5 separate regions of the Homo sapiens genome follow, and all the other regions are linked to region 1. The links are contacts of gene promoters, found by promoter capture Hi-C in human tissues and cell types (Jung and others, 2019). All regions are on one chromosome and are shown on one strand. The core of a region is centred on a gene start or on the middle of the fragment in contact, and the rest is flanking DNA. Distances in the headings are between cores, read along the strand shown. Region 1 holds the start of CHAF1B (chromatin assembly factor 1 subunit B). Region 2 overlaps RIPPLY3 (ripply transcriptional repressor 3). Region 3 holds the start of HLCS (holocarboxylase synthetase). Region 4 overlaps HLCS (holocarboxylase synthetase). Region 5 overlaps HLCS (holocarboxylase synthetase).

Evidence for each region. Contacts are between HindIII fragments. The study calls those that stand out against the background at their distance.
Region 2: a fragment that was not itself captured here is called in contact with the fragment with the promoter of CHAF1B in region 1 in 1 of the 25 tissues and cell types used here (dorsolateral prefrontal cortex).
Region 3: a fragment that was not itself captured here is called in contact with the fragment with the promoter of CHAF1B in region 1 in 2 of the 25 tissues and cell types used here (dorsolateral prefrontal cortex and mesenchymal stem cells).
Region 4: a fragment that was not itself captured here is called in contact with the fragment with the promoter of CHAF1B in region 1 in 1 of the 25 tissues and cell types used here (dorsolateral prefrontal cortex).
Region 5: a contact is called between a fragment that was not itself captured here and the fragment with the promoter of CHAF1B in region 1, in 2 of the 25 tissues and cell types used here (dorsolateral prefrontal cortex and hippocampus).

What each region holds. Positions count from the first base shown.
Region 1 is chr21:36,384,052-36,386,795 of GRCh38, forward strand. It overlaps CHAF1B (chromatin assembly factor 1 subunit B), which reads left to right and starts at 1,341. Exons shown (of 14, transcript NM_005441.3): 1 at 1,341-1,400; 2 at 2,009-2,211. The coding sequence starts at 2,086. RefSeq lists silencers at 1,173-1,542, 1,573-1,672 and enhancers at 1,792-2,293, 2,294-2,744. The HindIII fragment of the contact is 18,705 bases long and covers 1-2,744 here.
Region 2 is chr21:37,008,762-37,011,505 of GRCh38, forward strand. The region is part of intron 2 of RIPPLY3 (ripply transcriptional repressor 3); the gene reads left to right. Among named protein-coding and RNA genes, the nearest start is that of RIPPLY3, 3.4 kb to the left of the region's middle. RefSeq lists an enhancer at 1,333-1,392. The HindIII fragment of the contact is 3,348 bases long and covers 1-2,744 here.
Region 3 is chr21:36,964,040-36,966,783 of GRCh38, forward strand. It overlaps HLCS (holocarboxylase synthetase), which reads right to left and starts at 2,630. Exons shown (of 11, transcript NM_001352514.2): 1 at 2,405-2,630. The coding sequence starts at 2,599. It overlaps HLCS-AS1 (HLCS antisense RNA 1), which reads left to right and starts at 2,420. Exons shown (of 4, transcript NR_186434.1): 1 at 2,420-2,572. RefSeq lists an enhancer at 1,983-2,032 and silencers at 2,092-2,422, 2,143-2,472, 2,543-2,744. The HindIII fragment of the contact is 4,971 bases long and covers 1-2,744 here.
Region 4 is chr21:36,946,076-36,948,819 of GRCh38, forward strand. All of the region lies in intron 2 of HLCS (holocarboxylase synthetase), which reads right to left. Among named protein-coding and RNA genes, the nearest start is that of HLCS-AS1, 19 kb to the right of the region's middle. RefSeq lists an enhancer at 799-1,352. The HindIII fragment of the contact is 5,400 bases long and covers 1-2,744 here.
Region 5 is chr21:36,925,114-36,927,857 of GRCh38, forward strand. The region is part of intron 5 of HLCS (holocarboxylase synthetase); the gene reads right to left. Among named protein-coding and RNA genes, the nearest start is that of HLCS-AS1, 40 kb to the right of the region's middle. RefSeq lists a silencer at 2,640-2,744. The HindIII fragment of the contact is 5,011 bases long and covers 1-2,744 here.

The DNA of each region.
Region 1 (2,744 bases), core at 91-2,590:
GAGCCGCATCCCCTGCCCGTGTTGGCTCATCAAGTTGGCACTGAAGTCGGATCTCTAAAATGTTCGCCAAGAAAGCCAACTCCTTCATGTACTTTTAATACTTAAAGCATGTGTTTTTATCTTTTAAATCCACAGTTCAGAGTCGTGACACTTCAAGAGGTGGGCAGATTATTCATTTGTGAATGAACAGCATTTATGAGAAATTTGGAGAAATTTTATGTTTGAGAGACACGAAGAATCCAGAGCTTTCCAAAACAGACTGATGATCACACCCACCGGGGAGTTTATGAAAATGCAAGCCCCTGGAGCACGGGCCTCTGCTGGATATTCGGAATCATGGGGCTGAGTAGGGCCAGGAATCTGTACTTTTAGAACAGCCATATTATCTAAAGTATATAGTCATTCCCAGTCCAAGCTCTGTAAATCCTGAAGAGAAAAATCTAAAAACTGCATATCCGGATTATGTTATTCTAGCTTCCTGTAGAAATCAGGCTTCAAGGAGCATACAGCCATTCTCATCAACATGAGACACGGATTTGTAGGCAATTTCTGTACCTTTCATAAAGCTGGCTAAAAGCATCAGCCGGTATTTATATAAGAATCCATGTCTGTTCTTTTTTTCCAAAAATCCTAGAGCAGTTGGCTCCTCAGATAACCCTGTGTGTTTCTTTTATCCAGTAAAAGCAGCGCATCCAGAGGTACTTGTTTCCTGGCCTTCTGCGAAGCCCACAGATAAATTAGGTCTCATTTGGAAACGTCCCATTTCGAAAAGCCTGAGGTATCTATCTCTGCCTACCGACTGATTTACAGCCTCACTTTAAAATGTTAGTCTGTTCTTAAAAAGGGTTTATAACTGCATCTACTATAATAATAAAATGTAAGCAACCTTGCGCTAGGTACTGAACAATTTCATAGCTTTGAACTCTCCAAAATGTTCTAGAAGCCAATACAGAAAACCCAAAAATCTCAGTTTTTGTTTGCAGAAGGGGCAAGAGAACCGGTTGTGTTAGCCCTCCAAGTGCCCAGCGCCAGCATAGGGTCTGTCTAACACACAGCCCAGGCTCTGTAAACCTTTGCTAAAAGAGCGAATCAACAAGGAATAAGTAATGGATAATAATAATAAATAATAATGAATCCATTCTTCCTTCGGTCGTGGGTCTGGCAGGCATAAATTCCGGCCGGGATTCCGACCCCAGGGCCAGAGCAGGACTCGCCTTGGCGTCTATGAGTGGGCGGGGCTTCCCTGGGGTACCGCCCACGTCGGGCGGGACCTGAGGGCCGCTGGAGGGGCGGGGCGTCTATGAGGTCCCGCCCATGCGGGGGCGGGGCCTGCGGCGCGCGGGAAGCGGCGCGCGCTGCGCGGGAGGTGACGGTGCCTCTGACTGTCCGGGTCCCTCCAGGTACGGCTTCCCTGGCCCGGGCAGCTCCGCGGCTCTTTTGGTCGCGTCGGTCCGGGCCAGAGGCCCTCGCCGAGGGCGGGCCCCTGGGCCCCGGGATAGCTCCGGAGCGGCGCGCGTTGGGGCGGCGGGGCCCCGTCCACCCCCGGCCCCGCGCGGCCTCCTCCCGGCGGCCTCAGTCCCAGCTTCCCGGGCCCAGCGCCCGGTCCCTGGGAAAGGCGGGGTTCTCCTCTCGCCCCGCCGCCCCGGTCCCCTACCCCGTTTGGCCCCCTCTTCCGGGAGGCTCCTCCCGGGGCGGGCCCCTCCCCGGGCTCTCAGGGCGCGCCCCTAGCCCCTACTAAGCGGGGACAGGCCGTGCAGACGGCCGGGGCCCCTAGGTAGCCTTTACCTGGGTGTTTCGTTTTGCTTTTCTGGATGTAGCGGCGTATCATAAACTTGTGGATGTCAGGACCCAGCGAAGCATTTTAGGTGGAGCTAGCAAGGTGTTATTGTCAGATGGCAACGTTAACATCCTTTCCCAATGCAGTGTGCATTTTAAATGGCTCCTGGCCCCTATTCAGCGCTCAATAACCCTTTGCTGCTGTTAACACTGTTGTTTAATCCATCACCAGCATTTTGCAGCTTTCTCCTGTCTTGAAGAAGTAGAACGGTGCCCGAGAAACGTTTTTCCCCTTCGAGACTCAGGAGGATGAAAGTCATCACTTGTGAAATAGCCTGGCACAACAAGGAGCCCGTGTACAGCCTGGACTTCCAGCATGGGACGGCTGGGAGGATCCACAGACTGGCGTCTGCCGGCGTGGACACCAATGTCAGGGTAAACTGGGGCAGAGATAGACATCCGGGAACACTGCTTGAAGCAATAGTTTTCATTCTTTTACTTAAAACCAGTGTCGGCTGGGCGCGGTGGCTTACGCCTGTAATCCCAGTGCTTTGGGAGGCTGAGGTGAGAGGATCGCTTGAGTCCAGGAGTTCGACACCAGCCTGGGCAACAGCCAGACATGAAAAAGTAGCGGGACGTGGCAGTGTGCAGCTGTAGGCCCAGCTACTTGGGAAGTTGAAGTGAGAGGATCGCTTGAGCCTAGGAGTTTGAAGCAAGCAACGATCACTCCACTGCACTCCAGCCTGGGTGACAGAGCCAGACCCTTCTCTTAAGTAAATGAATGAATGAATTAACGTATGTCAACAAACTAAACTACTTTGTCATCTAGCCCAGAATGCTAAATTTCCAGGGCCTGCGGTGAACAATGAAAGCAAAAGAGAGCTGCTTTCTTTTTTTTTTTTTTGAGACGGAGTCTTGCTCTGTTGCCCAGGTGGGAGTGCAGTGGTGCAATCTCGACTTACTGCAAC
Region 2 (2,744 bases), core at 83-2,582, 620 kb after region 1:
AAAAAAAAAAAAAAAAAAACCGTAGTCGTTTCATGGGAATTATAAGGAATGTCCTCCCTGTTGCGGTTTCTTCTGCAAAGCAACAGGTCGGGAGGGGAGGGGAGAGGCTGCCACTATCGCTTGCCTTGGAGAAAAGCTTAGAGCACCATTAGCGTTGGGCCGGTGCCACAGAGCAAATAGGACTGAGCCCCATCTGAGGTGCCCAGAGTTGCCGTTAAAAGCCCCCACCCCGCGTCTGGCCCTTTCTGAAGCACTTTCAGCCCCGTCAAGCACTCCTGGGGTATCTCATGTTGTCTGAGCAAATACACTCAAGCAGAGGGCTTTGTGGGCAAGATTAATGACCTCCACCATTCTTTTGTTACTCTGCATTGGTAACTCAGTTGCTTTATACTTACTGATGTAATGACTTGCTTTCATAGAATTTACCTTTCCTTTGTTACATTTTAAAATATAAATTGATGACTTTTACTTAATTTTTTTTTTTTTGATGACTCTTAAAACACTGAAGAATTAGGCTGGGAAAGACCATGTATTGAATTTACGTAACACGTGTTATATGGACTAACGTGCAGTTATTTGTAATATGGTAAGAAAACTTGATTGTGGGAAAACAGACCTTCACCGTATTTTGATATTTACACGACTTTATTAAATTAATCTGAATATTGGGAATTTTAATTTACTTCAAAGAAGGAAGCAGATAAAAGATAAATCAATTAACAAGAGATGATTTTTAGTCCCCGATTATTTATACATATATCTAAATAATGTAAAATCCCTTCTTTTGCATTCAAACTTAGTTCTTAAACATAAAATTTAAAGGTGCTTGTGTGAGAATATAGATGTTTACAATTATCCAGTTTTCTTTTAAATGAAATGGATGTGGAGCCTATCAGTTTCTTGCAGGAATAAAAATACGATAGCACGCTCCCTAAGTAAGACAGATGGTTTTGGGTTTTGTTTTCTGTTTTGATAAGGCCGTTTGTGAGAAAAATTTACTTGCAGAGAAATGTTAAACGTTAACTTTCTCGCTGATCAGCAGGTAGCCTGTCACGCTGAAGTAGTTCTGTCCACGGATGTGGGTGTGGGAAGAGTGGTTGTTCCCTGGGGGCTGTAGAGCCCGCCAATCCTCACCCCTAGCCCGGAGCCCGCTCTTTGCAGAGCCCAGCTGGTTGCGCAGAGCGACCAGCGCCAGTCTGTGCTCTGGTACTGTGCACCGCCCTGGGTTCCCTGCAGTCCACCGACGAGAGCTGCCCAGCGCAGGGAAGGAACGCTTCTTGCTCAACAGCGCCCTCGCCCGACAAAGCAGGACAATTCCCCAGCTCCCAAGCCCTCTTCTGTATTTCTCAAAAATGCCATTGGCTGGAGTGGCGGTGAAGAGGACTAACGCCTGGTGACCTGTACCAGGGCTCCCGGCAAGCAAAGCAAAACTAGAATAAAACCTCAAGTAGGCCGGGCGCGTGGCTCACCCTGTAATCTCAGCACTTTGGGAGGCCGAGGCGGTCGGATCATCTGAGGTCAGGAGTTCGAGACTGACCTCACGAACATGGTGAAACCCTGTCTCTACTAAAAATACAAAAGTTAGCCAGGCAGTGGTGGTGTGCGCCTGTAATCCTAGCTACTCGGGATGCTGAAGCAGGAGGATCGCTTGAACCTGGGAGGCAGAGGTTGCAGTGAGCTGAGATCGGGACACTGCATTCCAGCGTGGGAGACAGAATGAGACCCTGTCTCAAAAACAAAAATAAAACCCAAAAAACCCTCAAGCAGAGGGAAGGCCTCAAGGCCCTGTACTCTGAGCAGCACGGTCACCCTCACCCACTTCATGCCCCTACAACACTTAGGGAGCTATCTCCCTCCCCTACCTGCACCTTTCTTGATCTCTGTTGCGTTTCCCTCCTGGCCACTTGCGGGCACTGTCAGGGAGGCAGTTTCCTGGAAAACATCAGGGACTGTTTGTTCTTCTGGGCCTGCCCTATCTGCCAGGCTCCCACTTCTTAGCCCTAGCCCGGTCAGAGACTCGAACGGGGAGGAGAAGGCTGACCCCCACTGAAAGCCTCTCTGCACCTGTCAGTCCTCAGGCTCATAGGAAAACACACTCGCACATATGTTAAACGCAGTGCTTGCGTTGTGCACATTTCTGTTCTCGTGTTTCATTATAAAATGTGAATATTTAGACATTTCCCTCAGCAGACAAAGGATCCTTTTGGAAAACAATCAGGATATTTATGGCATTTTTTTTTTTTGAGGCGGAGTTTCGCTCTTGTCGCCCAGGCTGGAGTGCAATGGTGCAGTCTCAGCTCACTGCAATCTCAGCTCACTGCAGCCTCTGCCTCCCAGGTTCAAGCGATTCGCCTGCCTCAGCCTCCAAGTAGCTGGGATTACAAGCGTGCGCCACCACGCCCGGCTAATTTTTGTATTTGTAGTAGGGACGGGGGTTTCACTATGTTGGCCAGGCTGGTCTCGAACTCCTGACCTCAGATCGTGATGCTCCTGCCTCCGCCTCCCACAGTGCTGGTAATTACGGGCGTGAGCCACTGCGCCCTGCCTGGCATAAAACTTTTAAAGCTGCATATGTTTGTGGGGTAAGGTTTTTAAAGTGGATAAAGGTGTGCTGAATGTTTTAACAGGGTCCAGTTAGAACTGGACGATTTACAGAAGTTATTCTTTCTCTGACACCTGCCACTGCCGAGTTAGGCCCTGTCTGATCGCAGGGCGCCAAATAGCCGTTAGCAGGGCAAGATTGC
Region 3 (2,744 bases), core at 245-2,744, 580 kb after region 1:
TTTGGTGAAACCCTGTCTCTACTAAAAATACAAAAATTAGCCAGGCGTGGTGGCTCATGCCTGTAATCCCAGCTACTCAGGACGCCAAAGGAGGAGAATCACTTGAACCTGGGAGGTGGAGATTGCAGTGAGCGGAGATCGCGCCACTGCACTCCAGCCTGGGTGACAGAATGAGATCCATCTCAACATATGGGCATGAGATTCAGGTGTGTCCTTATTTCAGCCCAAGTAGACTGAGGTATCCCTCAAAAGTAGACCCAAGCAGACTGAGATATCCACCAAATCATCAACCTGATCATATTTTAAATCTCAAAATAACAGTAGCCAACCACAAATAAATGGTCAAGCTTTCCACCTGTAGACCTTCAACATCACAGCTTAAACCCAACAACTATTAAATTTACTATTTCAGGTCAAGCTGCTATGCTAAACAGTCTCATTTCCTAATAAGAAAAAGATACGAACTAGAATAGGAACTGTGATTTAAAGGCTACAGGGATGCAGAGCATGGCCATCCCATCTAGTCTGGAAAACTAGGAAATGACGCAGCAATATCTAACCAAATCTGTAGGCAAAGCTTACTGTGCAGAGTGACAGAGCAGAGTTACAGAATCCATGAAAGCACCAGGCCACTCCTACTCCGGCCTGCACAGGTAGGCAAGGGCTGAAAATCACTAGTTATGGTTAGTGTAGTTAACAGAAGGCCAGCGGAGTCATGAAAATGTTCAAAAGTAAAACTGTCCAAGAAAATCAGACATTCCCATCTCCATGTTTTTATATGTCCAAAATTTCTATTCTGACTTAAATCCTAAATGTAATTGATCCAATTTGGAAACTACTACAAAAAGCTCACCCCTCAATTTTTTGCCATTTTATTGAGTTATCTTTCTCAATCAGGTTAATTCCCAACGCTCTAAGCCATACATTGTATGTAATGCATGAACTTCTTCCCCTTTTGTCTGGGTAGTGTCAGTTATGTGGAGGTGGTACTAGTTATTTGCATAACTAGTACCTTGGGGGACCTGAGAAAACAGTCATTCATATTCAGTGTGACATAATACATATATGGTACTAACAAGAAAGAGTATTTTTTATTTGCTAGTGGCACAATTTCAACCCATATCTAAGCACAGCCTCCAGGCAATGTTCAAACCTGAGATAAGATTCAATTCCCCACAGGGGCTTTACGGTGTGACATATGCAGAAAACGTCATTTTAGTGCTAAAAGTGAGGCAATATTCCAGAAAACAGAGGAAAGGGACAAGAAACAGATTAAAAGCAAAACACGTTTAAATATTAATGAGAACAATGCTACCGATGTCCATGAAATTTTGTGCAGTACTGCACTGTGAAGCTAAGCCCATTTCCAAAAACAGCTGAATGGAAAGATCTATTGTTCCCTTTACAGCAAGGCAGCAGACTTTTTACAGAGATTAATTGACTGGCCCAAGTCACAAGGTAGGTGACAGAGTGGGCTGAACACGTAACCACCATCCTAAGCACTGGGTCAAAAAAAACAAAGGCTGACTGTCAACTGAAATTTAAAAGACGCAAAGACCATCAGTCGGGTGCCCAAGTTGGTGAATGATGCAACCAACTGACAGAAGATGGAGAGGGAAAAGGGCAGTTTTTGTAAATTTGGGGACATCTGACAAAAAGCTGATGACACAGGTGGGAGTTTTTTGTTTGGGATTTTTTTTTTTTTTTCTTAAGACAGGGTCTTGCTTTGTCACCCAGACTGGAGTGCAATGGCTCAATCATAGCTCACTGTAGCTTCAAACTCCGGGGCTCAAGTGAACCTCCCGGGATCAAGTGACCCTCCCGCCTCACCCTCCAGAGTAGCTGGGACTACAGGCGCGTGCCACCACGCCGACCTAAGTGTTTTTTTTGTTTTGTTTTTTGTAGAGAGGGGTCTAGCTATGTTGCCCAGGCTGGTCTCCATCTCCTGGGCTCAAAGCTGTCCTTCCTCCTAGGCCTCCCAGAGTGCAGGGATTACAGGCATAAGCCACCGCTCCCGGCCCGCCACAGCTGTCTCTCCTGGTTCACGGTCACCCAAACGCCGGCTCGAAGTGTGGGAGAGGAGGTTGGGGGCGACCCCAGGTGGGCACTGCTGGCGTCCGGCTGTCAATCCACAGCTCACGTCCTCACAGGTGCGCGCCTAGAGTCACGCGTCCAGCACCGCCCGGCTGGCCGGGAAGAGGCGACCGGGTCCGTGGTCCGAGTCCCGCACCTCCGGCCTCTCTCTGGGCCCCGGGGCAACAGCCCCTCCCGGGCCGCACAGGCCGCACTGAGGGCGCCACTCCGGGGCTCCCGAACTCCCGGGCTCCCGGCGGGGACGAGGCGCAGGGACGGGGGCACTTCCGGCTCGCGGGGCCCGGGTCGCCCGCCCGCCCGACCCGCCCACCTGGCTGTCGCTGACGCAGAAGACGCGGCCGCCACGGCTCAGGCACACGCGGGCGCCCGGGGGCTGCGCGGCCGCGCCGCAGAAGGTGAAGGAACAGCGCGAGGCACGCAGCCGCCGCACCGTGGCGCGCACGAGCTCAGCCGGCCGGCGACCCCAGCGCGCCCACAGGTACAGGTAGCACAGCGTGATGAGCATGGCCGCGCCGCCGGCAGGGCGAGCCCGCCTTGCCCGCCCGCCCCAGCGCCCCAGGCCCGGCCCCGCCCCGGCCGGAAGGGCCGCGCCGCCCCCCCGGGCCAGGCGGCGCGGGGGTGGGGACGGCGGGGGAGGCGGGGACCCGGAA
Region 4 (2,744 bases), core at 88-2,587, 560 kb after region 1:
ATGGTTCCAAAATATAAAGTCCTTTAGAGCAAGTAACCTCATGAGAAACCACATCATCCCTAGTGGGCAAAAACCGAACCTGGCAGGGAATGGGGAGGTGAAAAAAATCTTAGACATTACAACAGTTTGTGGCCCTCCAAGGCTCAATCCTATCCCTCAACTTTTTTATTTTTTATTTTTATTTTTTTTGAGACAGGGTCTTACTTTATCACCCAGGCTGGAGTGGTGCAGTCATGGCTCATTGCAGCCTCGACTTCCTGGGCTCCAGCAATCCTCCCAACTCAGCCTCCCGAGTAGCTGGGACGACAGGCATGCACCACTATGACGGGCTAATTTTTGTATTTTTTGTAGAGACGAGAATTCGCTATGTTGCCCAAGCTGGTCTCAAACTCCTGAGCTCAAGCGACCCTCCTGCCTCAACCTCCCAAAGTGCTGGGATTACAGGTGTGAGCCACCATGTCCGGCCCCCCACAACAAAATCTTATTCCTTAGTAGCTCATTTCTCTTCTCAGAGTGAACGTGAATTTAATTATTCTCCTCGGAAAAACAATCATGAAAAAAAAAAACTTGAGAAACATTGCGTTTGAGGGGAAAAGAATAAACGCAGGCCTTTATGGCCAACTCACTAACCTGTGTAGAATATTTGGACAAAGAGAAACTCCAGAATTTTCATTTAGCTCTACTTGTATCTTTCCTTCCACTTTACCACCTACTTCTCCCACCTCCTCGCAGACACACAGCCAAGGGAAGCAGAATTCACCTAGAGGGTCAGGCCCACCCAATGTTTCAGCAGAGTTCTACATTTCAGAAATGACATCTTTGATTCAGGACAGAGAGTTCGTTGATTTCAGCTTTGGGAATGGGGGAAAGGACGTCAGTTCAGGAAGATGAGAAGATAAACTAACACCGTGGCAGGGCAGACTTCTGGGATGAAGGTGCGTGGGAAACAGGGAAACGAACAGGGCAACCTCCCGCGGGAAGCTAAAGGCACCATTGTCCTCAGAGCAATCAAAGGAGGAGGAGAACCGCTCAGCCAATGGAGACTCAACCCGGAATTTAGCTGTAAAAACATTGATTTAGCCCCCTGCGGTAGCAGGCACTGGCAGTGTAAAAGGAGCCAATGATGAAATTCCCACACACCTCTGAAGAGGAATGAGGCAGGAGATAAACAAAGGAAGAGGAAGGACCGGAAGAGCCCAAAGAATACATCCACACATCCCGGATCAAGTTTCTCCACTCTGCCAACTGTTTCCTCACCTAAGTGCATTTCCGTTTTCTAGGAGCGTGGTCCATGAGCCATGGACCATGCAAACGCCTTCAAGCAGCGCTGGGTGCTCCGATCAAAGCAGAACCGCGCTGTCACTGATACGTCGTCCAGGGTGTTTGCCTTCCAGTGGATAAAGGCAAACAGGACACTTTAAATTTGCACTTCGAGATGGAAACAAAGGCATGGAAAAGAGAAGGGAAGTCAAGCAAAAGGCTCACTCCCAAAGATCAAAGCTAAGGAAGCCCTGGCTGTCCCTAAACAAAGGAGTTTCCTCCTATAATAGCAGCCAGCAGAAATCTGTTAAGTAACTAAAGCTCTTGACTTGATGTTACAATGTATGGCAGCAGGCAAGGCATATCTTCTCTGCTCAACTTAAAACTCACATCCAAGAAGCAGTCCGGGAGTGAAAGACCCCAGGTTAAACTAGCACAGGTGGCCCTGCCCAACAGGGGGCATTGGCAGGCAGCAGCTCTGCAGTGAGTGGGGAACAGAAATCTCAACAACCCACTGGTACCCAGAGTCAGATCACGGATGCTGCTAATTTTTCTGACTCTTGTTTCTCCTCTTCCAAATCATCTTAATTCAACGTGAAATTGTTAAAAAGCTCTAGTAACAAATTGGATGGAGCAAGGCTGGAAACGCAGAGGTAAAGAATTTGAAAATACAGGGCCAGGCGCGGTGGCTCACACCTGTAATCCCAGCACTTTGGGAGGCCGAGACAGGTGGATCACGAGGTCAGGAGTTCGAAACCAGCCTGGATGGCATGGTGAAACCCCCGCCTCTACTAAAAATACAAAAATTAGCCGGGCATGGTAGCGTGCACCTGTAGTCCCAGCTACTCGGGATGCTGAGGCAGGAGAATCACTGGAACCCAGTAGGCAGAGGTTGTGGTGAGCCGAGACCACACCACTGCACTCCAGCCTGGACGACAGAACGACACTCCGTCTAGAAAAAAAAAAAAAAAAAAGAATTTGAAAATACAAGACTAAAGGGAAAAAGTTATTTTTAACTTTTGGCTATCCTTGCTGTCTTTTGTGTTTGGAAATAGAGAGGATAAAGGAGAGCTACAAAATTGACTTTCACTTGATATTATGTAAAAAGACAGGCCAGATGCAGTGGCTCATGCCTGTAATCCCAGCACTTGGGGAGGCCGAGGCAGGAAGGATCGCTTAAGCCCAGGAGTTCAAGACCAGCCTGGGCAACAAGGTGAAACCCCATCTCTACTAAAAACAAAAGACTAGCTGGGTGTGGTGGCACACGCCTGTATTCCCAGCTACTTGGGAAGATTAGGTGGGAGGATGGATTGAGCCCAGGAAGTAAAGGCTGCAGTGAGCCATGATCATGCCACTGCACTCCAGCCTGGATGACAGAATGAGACCCTGTCTCAAAAAAAAAAAAAAAAAAAAAAAAAAGACAATATACCCTATGGCACTTTTAAGGGTATTGGAAAATCAAGTAACAGCGTAAGAGTTATCAC
Region 5 (2,744 bases), core at 180-2,679, 540 kb after region 1:
GGGGTTAAATCAAAATGAAATGTCATAACTAGTTTCTGTTTTTAAGTACGTATTACCCATTCCATAACTCCCCACTACCAAAATCACACAAACACACCTCATGGTGATTTTGCCCGATCATTTCAGTAACAAACCCAGTTGTCACTTCTTGTGACAGCTACATCTTGATCCCAGCTGGACACAGGACCCCTGCTAAGAGTCCAGCCGGCTTGTGTTTCTCAGGTCACCTACACACTGTTAGCCACCGTTGGCCACGATGAACACCCACAAGGTTCCCAAGCTTTTTCATTTTGGAAAAATTCTTGTGCTCCCCAGATCCTAAGCAGATGTCCCAGGCTACGGGAGCAATGCACAAGCTCTCTAGTTCCCCAAGGTAAAGGTGCCGACCTTCCTGGGGGCAGCACGTCCAGTTCCCCAAGGTAAAGGTGCCGACCTTCCTAGGGGTGGCACATCCCACCTTCTTCTGCTTCCTCTGGACTCACTGGGGGGACCAAAAGGGGTCCACTGGCAGGCAACTCTGCAGGGGTGGAGGGTGGGGGGCTGGCTCTGCCCCACACACAGATTCAGGTCCCAGCCGGTCCTAACCCGCCAGCTGCCCCTCCCAGTGAGACCCTGCAGAGCGTGGCAGCCTGTGCTTTCTTTCTGCCATTGCTCTGGCAGAGATAAAAAGGAAAATGGAACCCAGAGAAACAGAAACAAGGCAGCTAGCTTCTCAACTGGGAAAGAATTACATTTTCTCTAGAACATCAGATTCGATAGAAAATAAAATCTATTAAAATGTTTCTATAAAATATAAAAGAATTATGTTTTTTCTGGTGTTCTGTAAGGGAAAGGATTATGTTTCTTCTATAAAATCAGTGTTTCTCAAAAACATTCATGTCCCAGCACAGTAAAGATGTATTGCTGCTGACTGCCTGTCACCCACTGGTGGCGGGAAGATGTGGTGGCCACCAGGTGATCGCACCCCGGACACCCCACAGTGAGCCATGTGGTGTATCAGTCTCTCACCCACCAACATCTGCAGAGAGGAAGCCATGGAGAGGTCCCCATATATATGGTCTTGGAGAAACAGTTCAAAGGGCTCTGCCAAGAAACTGGAACATCCAAGCAGGGGTAGGGCACCCAGGGGTACCTTCCACCCACAGAAGCAAAGGGACAGCTTCAGCTCGGAGGCCCCCACACACCAACTCAGAGCTCACAGTTAACCCTGGAAGTCACAGCTGCCACAGGCCATGAACAAGAGTCACGTGTTTTACTATCAGAGCGAACCCTTTCTAAATAATATGTCAAATATTAATATTAACCAAAGTATCAACACCTATGAGATTCCCTGCCTTTTAACATTCAAGTGTGACCATGTGTGAGATGCCTTCAAAGTCCAATGACACGCAGTCATTTGTTTTTAGTTTTTAATAACTAATTTGGCTCATTATAAAATAACTCATAACAAATAACCAATTTGGCTCATTATAAAATAACTAATAACTAATTTGGCTTATTATATATATAATCATTATAGAAAATTTGGAAAATACAGAGAAAGTTTTAAAAGATTATTAAAATCACCCTTAAGCACTCCACCACAAATAAGTCCCATATATACCAGATTTCCTTCCAGTCTTGTTTCCTTTTTTTTTTTTTTTTTTTGAGACAGGGTCTCACTCTGTTGCCCAGGCTGGAGTGCAGTGGCACAATCATAGCTCACTACAGCCTCAACCTCCCTGGCTCAGGCAATCCTCCTGCCTCAGCCTCCCGAGTAGCTAGGACTACAGGTATGCGCCACCATGCCTGGCTAATTTTTGTATCTTCTGTAAAGAATACGAAATTCTGCCAGGTTGCCCAGGCTGGTCTCGAATTCCTGGGCTTGAGCGATCCACCTGCCTCAGCCTCCCAAGGCATTGGGATTACAGGCTTGAGCCACTGCACCTGGCCCAGTCTTCTTTCTACGGAGATAGGTGTGTGGTAAACGTGTGTTTGTGTGTTTGTTTTATGGTTTAACTTTTTGTCATTTTGCTGAGACCCAAATTTCAATCCTGCTCCTGGGAGGTTCAATTAAACGTGAAAGCCTTGGTCGGAGGAAGCCCAGCTCAGCCGCCCACAGCCTGCATCTCAGCCAAGCCCTGCTTCCTCTTGGTATCGTGCACAGTGACACTGATGGAGCCACACATGACTGGGTTTTATAGTGGGAATCACACGCTACCATGGTGTCTGGGTGTCGATGAAGGTCTCCGAGCACATCCTTCCCAAATGCCAAGGGCTGACCGTCGCTGAGGCGAGTGTTTTTTCTCTTTGGGTCTTGCTACTATTCTTTCCAGTTATATCACAGTAACGGAGAAGCACATAAATCTTCTGCGCTATTCGTCATAAAGAGCAAGTGTCAAGGCACCAAACTGTGTAAACACAGCTGGTACGCAGTAAAACTATTTAGATAACTAGCATATTTATTTTGTTCTTTCATATCCCATACTATAATAGTACCTAGGACACAGTAAACGTTGAATGAAAGATGAATATTATTAACTGGGACATTGAAATAATTTCTGCAGACCCAAAAGAAAGTGCCACCAATATAATGGAAAACTATAAAATTATACTATGTGAAACTGATATAGACAGAAAAAAATTAAATCTCTGAAGAACAACTTTATAGTTCTAGGGTCCTGTATGCGAGGCAGCCTAGCTCAGCAGCGACACCCTGTGGTGAGAGATCTTTGACTCCCAGCAACAGAGTGTCTTGCAGGGCA